Linked DNA regions of Homo sapiens: all the other regions are linked to region 1. The links are contacts of gene promoters, found by promoter capture Hi-C in human tissues and cell types (Jung and others, 2019). All regions are on one chromosome and are shown on one strand. The core of a region is centred on a gene start or on the middle of the fragment in contact, and the rest is flanking DNA. Distances in the headings are between cores, read along the strand shown.

What was found. The method cuts DNA at HindIII sites, captures the fragments that hold promoters and counts their contacts. A contact is called where the count stands out against the background at its distance.
Region 2: a fragment that was not itself captured here is called in contact with the fragment with the promoter of CCKAR in region 1 in 1 of the 25 tissues and cell types used here (pancreas).
Region 3: a fragment that was not itself captured here is called in contact with the fragment with the promoter of CCKAR in region 1 in 3 of the 25 tissues and cell types used here (mesenchymal stem cells, neural progenitor cells and spleen).
Region 4: a fragment that was not itself captured here is called in contact with the fragment with the promoter of CCKAR in region 1 in 6 of the 25 tissues and cell types used here (IMR-90 fibroblasts, aorta, lymphoblastoid cells and 3 more).

The regions. Positions count from the first base shown.
Region 1 is chr4:26,489,165-26,491,864 of GRCh38, forward strand. It overlaps CCKAR (cholecystokinin A receptor), which reads right to left and starts at 1,320. Exons shown (of 5, transcript NM_000730.3): 1 at 992-1,320; 2 at 69-320. The coding sequence starts at 1,103. The HindIII fragment of the contact is 14,703 bases long and covers 1-2,700 here.
Region 2 is chr4:26,448,548-26,451,247 of GRCh38, forward strand. No RefSeq gene overlaps it. Among named protein-coding and RNA genes, the nearest start is that of CCKAR, 41 kb to the right of the region's middle. The HindIII fragment of the contact is 3,916 bases long and covers 1-2,700 here.
Region 3 is chr4:26,543,784-26,546,483 of GRCh38, forward strand. No RefSeq gene overlaps it. Among named protein-coding and RNA genes, the nearest start is that of TBC1D19, 39 kb to the right of the region's middle. The HindIII fragment of the contact is 7,536 bases long and covers 1-2,700 here.
Region 4 is chr4:26,524,607-26,527,306 of GRCh38, forward strand. No RefSeq gene overlaps it. Among named protein-coding and RNA genes, the nearest start is that of CCKAR, 35 kb to the left of the region's middle. The HindIII fragment of the contact is 4,585 bases long and covers 1-2,700 here.

The DNA of each region.
Region 1 (2,700 bases), core at 70-2,569:
TTTGGGAAGGTCTGGGGCTGAGTGGGGTCTGGGGCAAGCTCCAGAAAGAGTCACCAGCAGCAACTTACCCATGAAGTAGGTGGTGGTCTTGCAAACGGCGCTCCCGAAGATGAAATCCTTGAGCAGATTGGGGATGAGGTTGAACGGCATGCAGAAGAGACAGAGCATGAGGTCGCTGACAGCCAGGGAGAGGAGGAAGATGTTGGTGACCGTCCGCATCCGCTTGTTCCGAATCAGCACGGTGATGACCAGCGTGTTTCCCAGCACGCTGAGCAGGAATATCAAGGAGTACAAGAGAATCTGCACCGCTGGCTGCCACTCTGCAGAGAGAAACAGGAGCAAGACGGAGGGATGGAGGTGATGACAGCAGAATGCTAAAACCGAAGCCAAGGGTGAATTCCTGCCGATTTTCCCCCCACCGGGGTGTACATCACTGGACCCACGATTCCTGTCCTGGCAACATTTTGCGGAAACAAATTGAGGAAAGCAGAGACTGAATTATTTTCTTTTTAGAAGGTTGGTTTGTTAAAGGATCACTCAGGGAACCACTTTTTCTTAAGAACAAAGCTCCTCAAGTGAACAGTGATCACTTTCTTTCCTGGCTGCTAAGCATTATTTCACTTTAATCACTTCATGCTGGGTTTCCCCCCAAGAAAAGAAAACAGCTGCATGGTGACAACACCTTTTCTGCTGTGCTTGTAAGTTCAGGCTTTGACACTTGTAGTCCCTCTTGCTTCACTCAGCTTTTCCTCCCCTGCTTTTGTTCCCCCAAGTCCTATTCATGAATGCCCAACTCCCCCATGGGGGACAATAAGAATATTTGACTCTATTCTGCTTTTTAATCTCTTCTCCAAACTTCTGAACATATGACTTTATCTAGCCTTGTCTCACAATGACTTGGTTATATATATTTTTTATCAGCCTTGCCTTTGCTGATTTCTCCCACAACTCAATAGTTTCCTGAATTAAAATAACAGCTTCCGACACTTACCTTTGGAAGGACGGGGCTGATCCAAGCAGAAAAGCGTCTCATTTTCGAGCCCGAGTTCACAGGGAGGAGTGATGTTGCTTCCATTCACAAGAAGGCTGTCAACCACATCCATCCTTGCCTGCTGCTTTCCACCAAGTGCTGGAGAGCTGGTGAATTGCTCACTCCCGGCTCATTCCTCTAATGACCGAAGCGTCTCGCAGATGCAACCTGCCGTGGAGGAGCAGGGAGGGAGTGATTTCCAGGTGTGGGCTTTTTCAGCCATTCCTAAAGGCGACTTGAGTTCACCTCACTCACTCCAGCATTTGTACTCCTGTTGTGGAAAAGGCAGTGAGCACAAGCCAAGCCCGCTCCACCTTCACCCCGCCCCACCTCCCCCGGCCCTTTCCTGGGCCAGTCTTAGGGCCCTGAGTACAGACAGCCTGGCTACCCGTTAACCATTCTCAGCGTGTGGCTGCTTTTTACACACATGTGTACATATGCACGGACACACACACACACACAGAGGCTTCCCCAGTACTCCTCTATATAGGAACCCGTCACCATCCCAGACATATGCAGAAGAAAGCCCAAACCGGCTGTGTGAGACAGGAACAATTAACACGGTAACAGATCCGATAATGCAGACCATCAGGCCTAAAGAACACGGAGGGACTGTGTTCTACCTCCTTATAGAAAAGCAATTAGTGCCTTTTTAGCTTTGGAACCATGCCCGGTGGTGTGTGTGTGGACAGAACTGCTGGCTGGTTGTTAAGTTGCTACTAAACACAGTGTTGTTTCTCGTGGTCTCTGCCCTTGTTAACTAGGATTGAGGCACTTTTGAACATAGGTACCTGGGTCCTTATTACAAAAGACGTTAGTGAGATTTCCTCTTCATTCATGAAGCCTTGCATTCAGCACATCTTCATTGAGAGTCAATCATTTGCCAGGCACTTTTCTAGCATGTCAGCAAATAATGAGCAGAATTATTTCAGGTAGTAAGTACTACAAAGGGAGTAAAGCAGGGAGATGTGATGTATACAAACAGATTAGGGGCTGATTTTTTGGGGGGCGGGGACAGGGTCTTGCTCTGTTCCCCAGGCTGCAGTGGAGTGGCGCGATCATGGCTCACTGCAGCCTTGCTCCCTGGCTCAAGCAATCCTCCTACCTTAGCCTCCTGAGTAGCTGGGACTACAGGCACACACCACTAAGCCCAGCTGATTTTTTTAGTTTTAGAAGAGAGGAGGTCTCGCTATGTTGCCCAGGCTGGTCTCAAGCTCCTGAGCTCAAGCAATCCTCCTGCCTTGGCCTCCCAGTGTTGGCATTACAGGCGTGAGCCACTGCACCTGGCCTGGGGCTGCTGATTTAGAAGGGGTAGTCAGGAGAGGTCTCTTAAGGAGGGGACTGTGATCTGAGACTGAACCACAAGAAGGACAAAGTCTTGTGAAGATCCCAAGACAGCTTCTCCCAGGCAAAAGGAGGAGCACTTTTAGCAGAGGTAACAGCAAGTGCAAAGGCCCTGAGGTGGGAATGAGTGTGGCCCCATTGAGGTACAAATAGATAGAAGTAGGAGTGAGTGAGAGGCAAACAGCAGGACGTGAGATCAGAGAGGGGGGCCATCTCAGGGTCCTGGGTGTTCCATGAAGCTCTGTGGTGCTGGAAAGCCCTTCAACCTCCATTGCACAGATTATGTCCTCAGTTCAGACCCTTTGGAAAGCAGACGACAATGGCTG
Region 2 (2,700 bases), core at 16-2,515, 41 kb before region 1:
AACTAGGGAAAGGACACCCTATTCAATAAATGGTGCTGGGAAAACTGGATAGCTACATGTAGAAGAATGAAACTGGATCCCTGTCTGTCACCATATACAAAAATCAACTCAAGATGGATAAAAAAACTTAAATCTAAGACCCCAAACCATAAAAAGTCTAAAAGAAAACCTAGGACCCTAAAAGCAAATGCAACAAAGACAAAAATAAATAAATGGGACCTAATTAAACTAAAAAGCTTCTGCATAGCAAAATAAATAAATACTCAACAGGGTAAACAGACAACCCACAGAATGGGAGAAAATTGTCACAAACTATGCATCTGACAAAGGACTAATATCCAGAGTCTTCAAGGAACTCAAATGAACAAAAAAAAAGTCTCATCAAAAAGTGGGCAAATGACATGAGTAGACGTTTCTCAAAAGAAGATAATACAGATGGCCAACAAATGTGAAAATATTCAACATCAAAATCAGGGAAATGCACACTAAAACCACAGTGAGATACCAGCTTACCCCAGCCAGAATGGCCATTATTAAAAAATAAAAAATAAAAAAAAATAGATGTTGGTGTGCATGTGGTGAAAAGGGAACACTTATCCACTGCTGGTGGGAATGTAAATCAGTACAGCCTCTATGGAAAACAGTATGGAGGTTTCTTTAAAAACGAAAAGTAGATCTACCATTTGATCCAGGAATCCCACTACTGGGTATCTACCAAATCATTATATTCAAAAGACACCTGCACACATATGTTTAAAGAAGTCATTATATTCAAAAGACACCTGCACACATACGTTTATTGCATCACAATTCACAGTTGATAAGGAACCAATCTAAGTGCCCACCACCCAATGAATGGATAATGTGGTGTATATACACCATGGACTACTACTCAGCCATAAAAAAGAATAAAATAATGTATTTTGCAGCAACTTGGGTGGAGATGGAGGCCATTATTCTAAGTAAAATAACTCAGGAATGGAAAACTATGTTCTGACTTATAAGTGGGAGCTAAGCTATGGGTACGCAAAGGTAGACAGAGTGGAAAAATGGACATTGGAGACAGAAGCAGGGAGGCTAGGAAGAGGGTGAGGGCTAAAAAAACTACATATTGGGTACAATATATACTACTCAGCTGATGAGTACACTAATCTCAAACTTCACCATTACACACTTCATCCATGTAACCAAAAACTACTTGTACCCCAAAAGCTATTGAAATAAAAAATAATAATAATAAACCCAAACCAGAAGTCACAGATTTGGGATGAGATTTTTGCAAGAAAAATCATGGAGAATGTAAATTACTGGGCACATTGTCAAAGAAAAGGCCTTAGCCCTATATCAAAGATCATTAATATGTATATGTTTAAGTTAAAACTTATACTATTTCCTGTTTTATGAATATTCCACTTTAGCTGATTTTTTTTTTCCACTCACTGACTCAAGATACTGATTGAGATGTGGAGGACAAAAGACAGAGGGTTCCTCCTGGAGTAAATGTATCATTCTTGTCCCGTAAACTAGGTACTGAGTCAGGGGCTTTACATATATCATCTTATTTAATCTTCCAAACCGCTCAGAGAAGCAGGTGTTATTATTTCTATTTTACAGGTTAGAAAATGATGCCTTAAGTAATTTACCTTAGATTCCACAGTTCAAAAGCGACAGAACTGGGATAGAAACCAAAATTTGATTCCAAAAGCCTTTGTTGCTCTCCTTACACCTCACAGGTTTTCATTGTTACGGGGGAGCTACAGGTGAGGCTTGAGACTCACCTAGGGCCTCTGAGCTGGTCCACAGCCCGGCTGCTGATCAAACCCAGCCTCGCCCAGTTGAGCTGCTCTCCATTCCATGTTTGTTTTAGTTTTGCTCCTGCTTTTGCAAGGGAAGCCCAGTACTCAAGGAGACAGGGCACAGTTAAGAAAACCAAGTTCTTGGAACAGGCCCAGATCTGTACCAGGCTCTGGGCTTGAACATGACTGCAGAAATGTCAGGAGTTGCTCCCGGAATGGATAATTGAGTCCAGGGAGGTGACTCTTTCTCTGTGTGGATTAACACATGACTATCTCCATTGCCTCCCTGTGGCCCGTAGTGGTGATGGTTGTCAGGAGTGCTGTGTGTCAAGAAGGACCATTCTCAGCAAACTAACACAGGAACAGAAAACCAAACATCGCGTGTTCTCACTTGTAAGTGGGAGTTGAAAAATGAAAACACATGGACACAGGGAGGGGAACATCACACAATGGGGCCTGTCGGAGGGTCAGAGGCAAGGGGAGGGAGAACATTAGGACAAATACCTAATGCATGCAGGGCTTAAAACCTAGATGATGGGTTGATAGGTGGAGGAAACCACCATGGCACATGTATACCTATGTAACAAACCTGCACGCTCTGTACATGTATCCCAGAACTTAAAAACAAGGATTCAGAGGCTGCATCTGCGGTTAACTAAAGGGCATTATGAGCAGTGATGCCTGGTGTGTGAGATGGAGACTATGCACAGACACCAGTTATTTTCCTTCCTTGGCCTTAGGTGACGGTTCTCAAACATGACCCTGCAACAGAATCACCTGAGGGTTAAAACTCAGATTACCCTTCCCCAGCGTTTCTCATTCAGGATATCTGGATTAGAGCCCAAGAAACTGTTTAAGAAGTTTCAGGTGAGCTGATGCGAATTCAGAGACCCCACTTTGAGAA
Region 3 (2,700 bases), core at 121-2,620, 55 kb after region 1:
TTACGTAGTGTTTTTTTGTTTTGTTTTTAAAATTTCATTTAACTTTAAGTTCCAGGATACATGTGCAGAATGTGCAGATTTGTTACATGGGTAAATGTGTGCCCCAGTGGTTTGCTGCACCTATCAACCCATCATGCAGTTATTAAGCCCCACATGCATTAGCTATTTATCCTGATGCTGTCCCTCCCTCCACCACCCTGACAGGCCCCAGTGTATGTTGTTCCCCTCCCTGTGTCCATGTGTTCTCATTGTTCAGCTCCCACTTATAAGTGAGAATATGTGGTGTTTGGTTTTCTGTTCCTGCATTAGTTTGCTGAGGATAATGGCTTCCGGTTCCATCAACGTCCCTGCAAAGGACATGATTTCATTCCTTTTTATGATTGCATAGTATTCCATGGTGTGTATGTACCACGTTTTCTTTATCCAGTCTATCATTGATGGGCATTTGGGTTGATTTCATGTCTTTGCTATTGTGAGCAGTGCTGCAATGAACATACATGTATATGTACCTTTATACTAGAATGATTTATATTCTTTTGGATATATACCTAGTAATGGGATTGCTGGGTCAAATGCTATTTCTGCTTCTAGATCTTTGAGGAATCACCACACTGTCTTCCATAATGGCTGAACTAATTTACATTCCAACCAACAGTATAAAAGCATTTCTCTTCCTCTACAGCTGCACCAGCATCTGTTTCTTCTTGACTTTTTAATAATTGCCATTCTGACTGGCATGAGATAGTATATCATTGCATTTTTAATTTGCATTTCTCTAATGATCAGTGATGTTGAGCTTTTTTCCACATGTTTTTTGGCCACATAAATGTCTTCTTTTGAGAAGTGTCTGTTCATGGTTTTTGCCCACTTTTTAATGAGGTAGTTTTTTTTTTTTTTTTCAAATTTGTTTAATCTACAATCCTTGTAGATTCTGGATATTAGACCTTTGTCGAACGGATAGATTGCAAAAATTTTCTCCCATTCTGTAGGATGTCTGTTCACTCTGAGGATAGTTTCTTTTGCTGAGCAGAAAACTCTTTAGTTTAATTAGATCCCATTTGTCAATTTTTGCTTTTGTTGAATTGCTTTTGATATTTTTGTCATAAATTTTTTACCTGTGCCTGTGTCCTCAATGGTATTGCCCAAATTTTCTTCTAGGGTTTTTATAGTTTTGGGATTTACATTTAAGTCTTTAATCCATCTTGAGTTAATTTTTGTATAAGGTGTGAGGAAGGGGTCCAGTTTCGATTTTCTGCATATGCATATCCCAGCACTATTTATTAAATAAGGAATCCTTTCCCCATTACTTGTTTTTGTCAGGTTTGTAGAAGATCAGATGGCTGTAGATGTGCTACCTTATTTCTGCAATCTCTATTCTGTTCCATGTTGGTCTATGTGTCTGTTTTTGTACTGGTACCATACTGTTTTGGTTACTGTAGCCTTGGAGTATAGTTTGAAATCTGGTGGTGTGATGCCTCCCGTTTTGTTCTTTTTGCTTAGGATTGTCTTGGATATATGGGCTCTTTATTTGTTCCATATGAATTTTAAAGTAGTTTTTTATCTAATTCTGTGAAGAATGCTAATGGCAGTTTAATGGGAATAGCATTGAATCTATAAATTACTTTGGGCAGTATGGCCGTTTTCACAATATTGATTCTTCCTATCCATGAGCATGGAATGTTTTTCCATTTGTTTGTGTCCTCTCTAATTTCCTTGAGTAGTGTTTTGTAGTTCTCCTTGAAGAGGTCCTTCACTTCCCTTGTTAGCTGTATTCCTAGGTATTGTATTCTCTTTGTAGCAATTCTGAATGGGAGTTAATTCATGATTTGGCTTTCTGATTGTCTATTATTGTATAGGAATGCTTGTGATTTTTGCACATTGGTTTTATGTCCTGAGACTGCTGAAGTTGCTTATCATCTTATGATGCTTTGGGGCTGAGATGATGGGGTTTTCTAGATATAGGATCACGTTGTCTGCAAACAGAGACAGTTTGACTTCCTCTCTTCCTATTTGAATATGCTTTATTTCTTTTTCTTGCCTGACTGCCCTGGCCAGAATTTCCAATACTATGTTGAATAGAAGTGGTGAGACAGGGCATCCTTGACTTGTGCCAGTTTTCCAGGGGAATGCTTCTAGATTTTGCCTATTGAGTATGTTATTGTCTGTGGGTTTGTCATAAATGACTCTTATTATTTTGAGGTACGTTCCATCAATATCGAGTTTATTGAGACTTTTTAACATGAAGGGGTATTGAATTTTATCAAAGGCCTTTTCTGTGTCTATTGAGATAATAATGTGGTTTTTGTCTTTAGTTCTGTTTAGGTAATTAATTTGCATATGTTGAACCAGCCTTGCATCCCAGGGATGAAGCCAACTTGATCGTGGTGGATAAACTTTCTGATGTGCTGCTGGATTTGGATTGCCAGTGTTTTATCGAGGATTTTTGCATTGATGTTCATCAGGGACATTGACCTGAAGTTTTCTTTTTTTGCTGTTTCTCTGCCAGGTTTTGGTATCAGGATGATGCTGACCTCATAAAATGAGTTAGGGAGAAGTCCCACCTTTTCAATTGTTTGGAACAGTTTTAAAATAAATGATACCAGCTCCTTTTTGTACCTCTGGTAGAATTCAGCTGCAAATCCATCTGGTCTTGTGCTTTTTTTGGTTGGTAGGCTATTTATTACTGCATCAATTTTGGAA
Region 4 (2,700 bases), core at 36-2,535, 35 kb after region 1:
GGGGAGCAGATAAAGAAGCGCTGTCTGAAAAACATGATCTTCATTGTTTTGGGGTTTGTGATTTAAAATTTATCCAAAGAGGGCACTTGTATGCAGATATGAAAATTAAGGTCTATTTTTAATCTGAACTTTCCATTCTTTGCCTTCCCATCACTGTAAACCTTTCAATGTTCATGTTTCAACCCACAAAACAGTAAAAGTCAGAAAATCTCATTATTGCATTTATATGCTAAGTACTTTGATGGGTAACAGAAAAATAATTTTGTTATTTATAACCCTTTTCTTTTCTTTAGAGATGGGATCTTGCTTTTGCCTAGGCTGGTCTCAAACTCCTGGGTTCAAGCAATCCTCCTGCCTCAGCCTTCTGGGTAGCTAGGATTACAGGCATGAGCCCCTTTTTCAAGATGATGGGTGTGGTGGATTGAAGATCGTACAAATACTTTGCCCCTCTTCCTCTTAAATTTAAGCTGGTCTTTGCTTTGACCAATACAAAGTGGTGGAAACTTTTTACTGTAGAACTTTCAAACCTGGGCCTTAAGAGAGTAGCAAGTTCTGTTTTCAAGTGCTTGGAATGCTCCTTCATGGAACCCAGTTGCCATGCTATGAAAAGCCCAATCAATTGGAGAGACCACATGGAGAACTAAGTTGCTCCAGTTCAGCTTTCAGCAGAGAACCAACTCCAACTGCCAGCCATGCGAGTCAGCCATCTCAGACATTCCAGCTTCCCAATGACTGTAACACCAGCTTACCCCATGTGCAACCAAGGAACCACCAGGCTGAGCCCCAGCCCACCCAAAGGACTGTGAGAAAGACAATAAAGGCTTCTTGTTATGTGGAGCCCCTACATTTTGTGTGTGTGTGTGTGTTTTTTTAATGCAGCAATAGTAACCAAGATAATGGGCCCTGATAAAATAACTAGAGAACCCTTTGTTTGCTAAGTAGTGTGTCAAATATGCATATATGAGTGTAGAATTCAGAGCAGGCTTAGCGCCAAAGCAATATGGTTTGATGGAGTTGCTTGGGGTGAAAGATCTTGGAGGGAGAAGGAGGAGTCTGAAAGCTGAAAGTGTGTAGAGTTGGGGGAAAGTTAAGGGAGAGAAAGAAAAAGAAATAGATTTTAAGTTTAAACTGCCCACGCACTCCATCCCCTTCTGTAGCAGGTTAGCAGAGAAGGGGAGTTAGGGAAAGAAACACTAAGTCGTTGCTGTGGTGGGGGATAGGTAAAGTTCCTCCTCATCTCTTCTACACAATCCTCAGTATAGTCTATATTACTTACAAATGCTTCTGTGCAAGTGTATTCTTCGGGGAAAACTAAAAGGTGATGACTAAGAAGTGACTAAAACATGGGTGAGTGGAGGGCAAGTGGACACAATGGCTGCACATGGTTACCTGGGGGCCAAAGGACAAGAAGGCAAAGCACAGGGCACAGCCATCGATGTCGTGTTTCATCCTGCCAGCAACCCTCCAAGACAGGCATTGCTATGCTCATTTGGCAGATGAACAAACTGAGGCTTAGACATGTGAAGTGCTGTTTCCAAAGTAAGGCAGCTTAGAGGTGGCAGCACTGAGATTCACACCCAGGTCCCTCTAATGCCTGTGCTTGAATTCTTTCCACCTTGCCTTGTTCCCTGTGCCTCTTCTCATCCTTTACTTTTCAGGTAATCAATCTTCAAGACTTAAACAAGAGTTTCATATACCTTATATACCTGGGTTTCTCAAACTCTTCATTCTCTATAAATGCAATGCCCAGATAATATTTAGATGCGGCCAGATGCAGCGGCTCACGCCTGTAATCTCAGCACTTTGGGAGGCCGAGGCCGGTGGATCACCTGAAGTCAGGAATTCGAGATCAGTCTGACCAACATGGAGAAACCCCGTCTCTACTAAAAATGCAAAAAATTACCCAGGCGTGGTGGTGCATGCCTGTAATCCCAGCTAATCGGGAGGCTGAGGCAGGAGAATCACTTGAACCCAGGAGGCAGAGGTTGCAGTGAGCCGAGATCACACCATTGCACTACAGCCTGGGCAACAAGAGCGAAATTCCTTCTTAAAAAAAAAAAATAATATATATATATACACATATATATATACATATATATATATACACATATATATATACATATATATATATACACATATATATACATATATATATACATATATATATACATATATATATATATATACACATATATATACATATATATATACATATATATATACATATATATATATATATACACACACATATATATATACGTATATATATATATACACACACATATATATACGTATATATATATATATATATACACACACACATATATATATATATATTTAGATGCTGTTTGAGAGCCTGCTTACCTAATGTTTATGTACCTGGACTCTGAAGCCAGACTACCTCGGTGCAAAGCTCTGCCCCACCACGTGCTAGCTTTGTGAGACTGGGCAATTTCCTTGTGCCTTAAACCTTCCATGCCTCTGTTTACTTCATCTGTTAAATGGGAATAAGGCTTTTGATCTCTTTTGTTTGTTAATAGGTTTCAATGAGTCAATGCCTACAGTTCTTAGGGCAGTACCCAGCACACAGTAAATGCTACACAAGTATTCACTCTTGTGATTATGTTCCCTGCATCGTTTCATTCCCTGACTGAAGACGGGAAACTATTTTTTAAGAGTTATCTCATTATCCCACAGTAT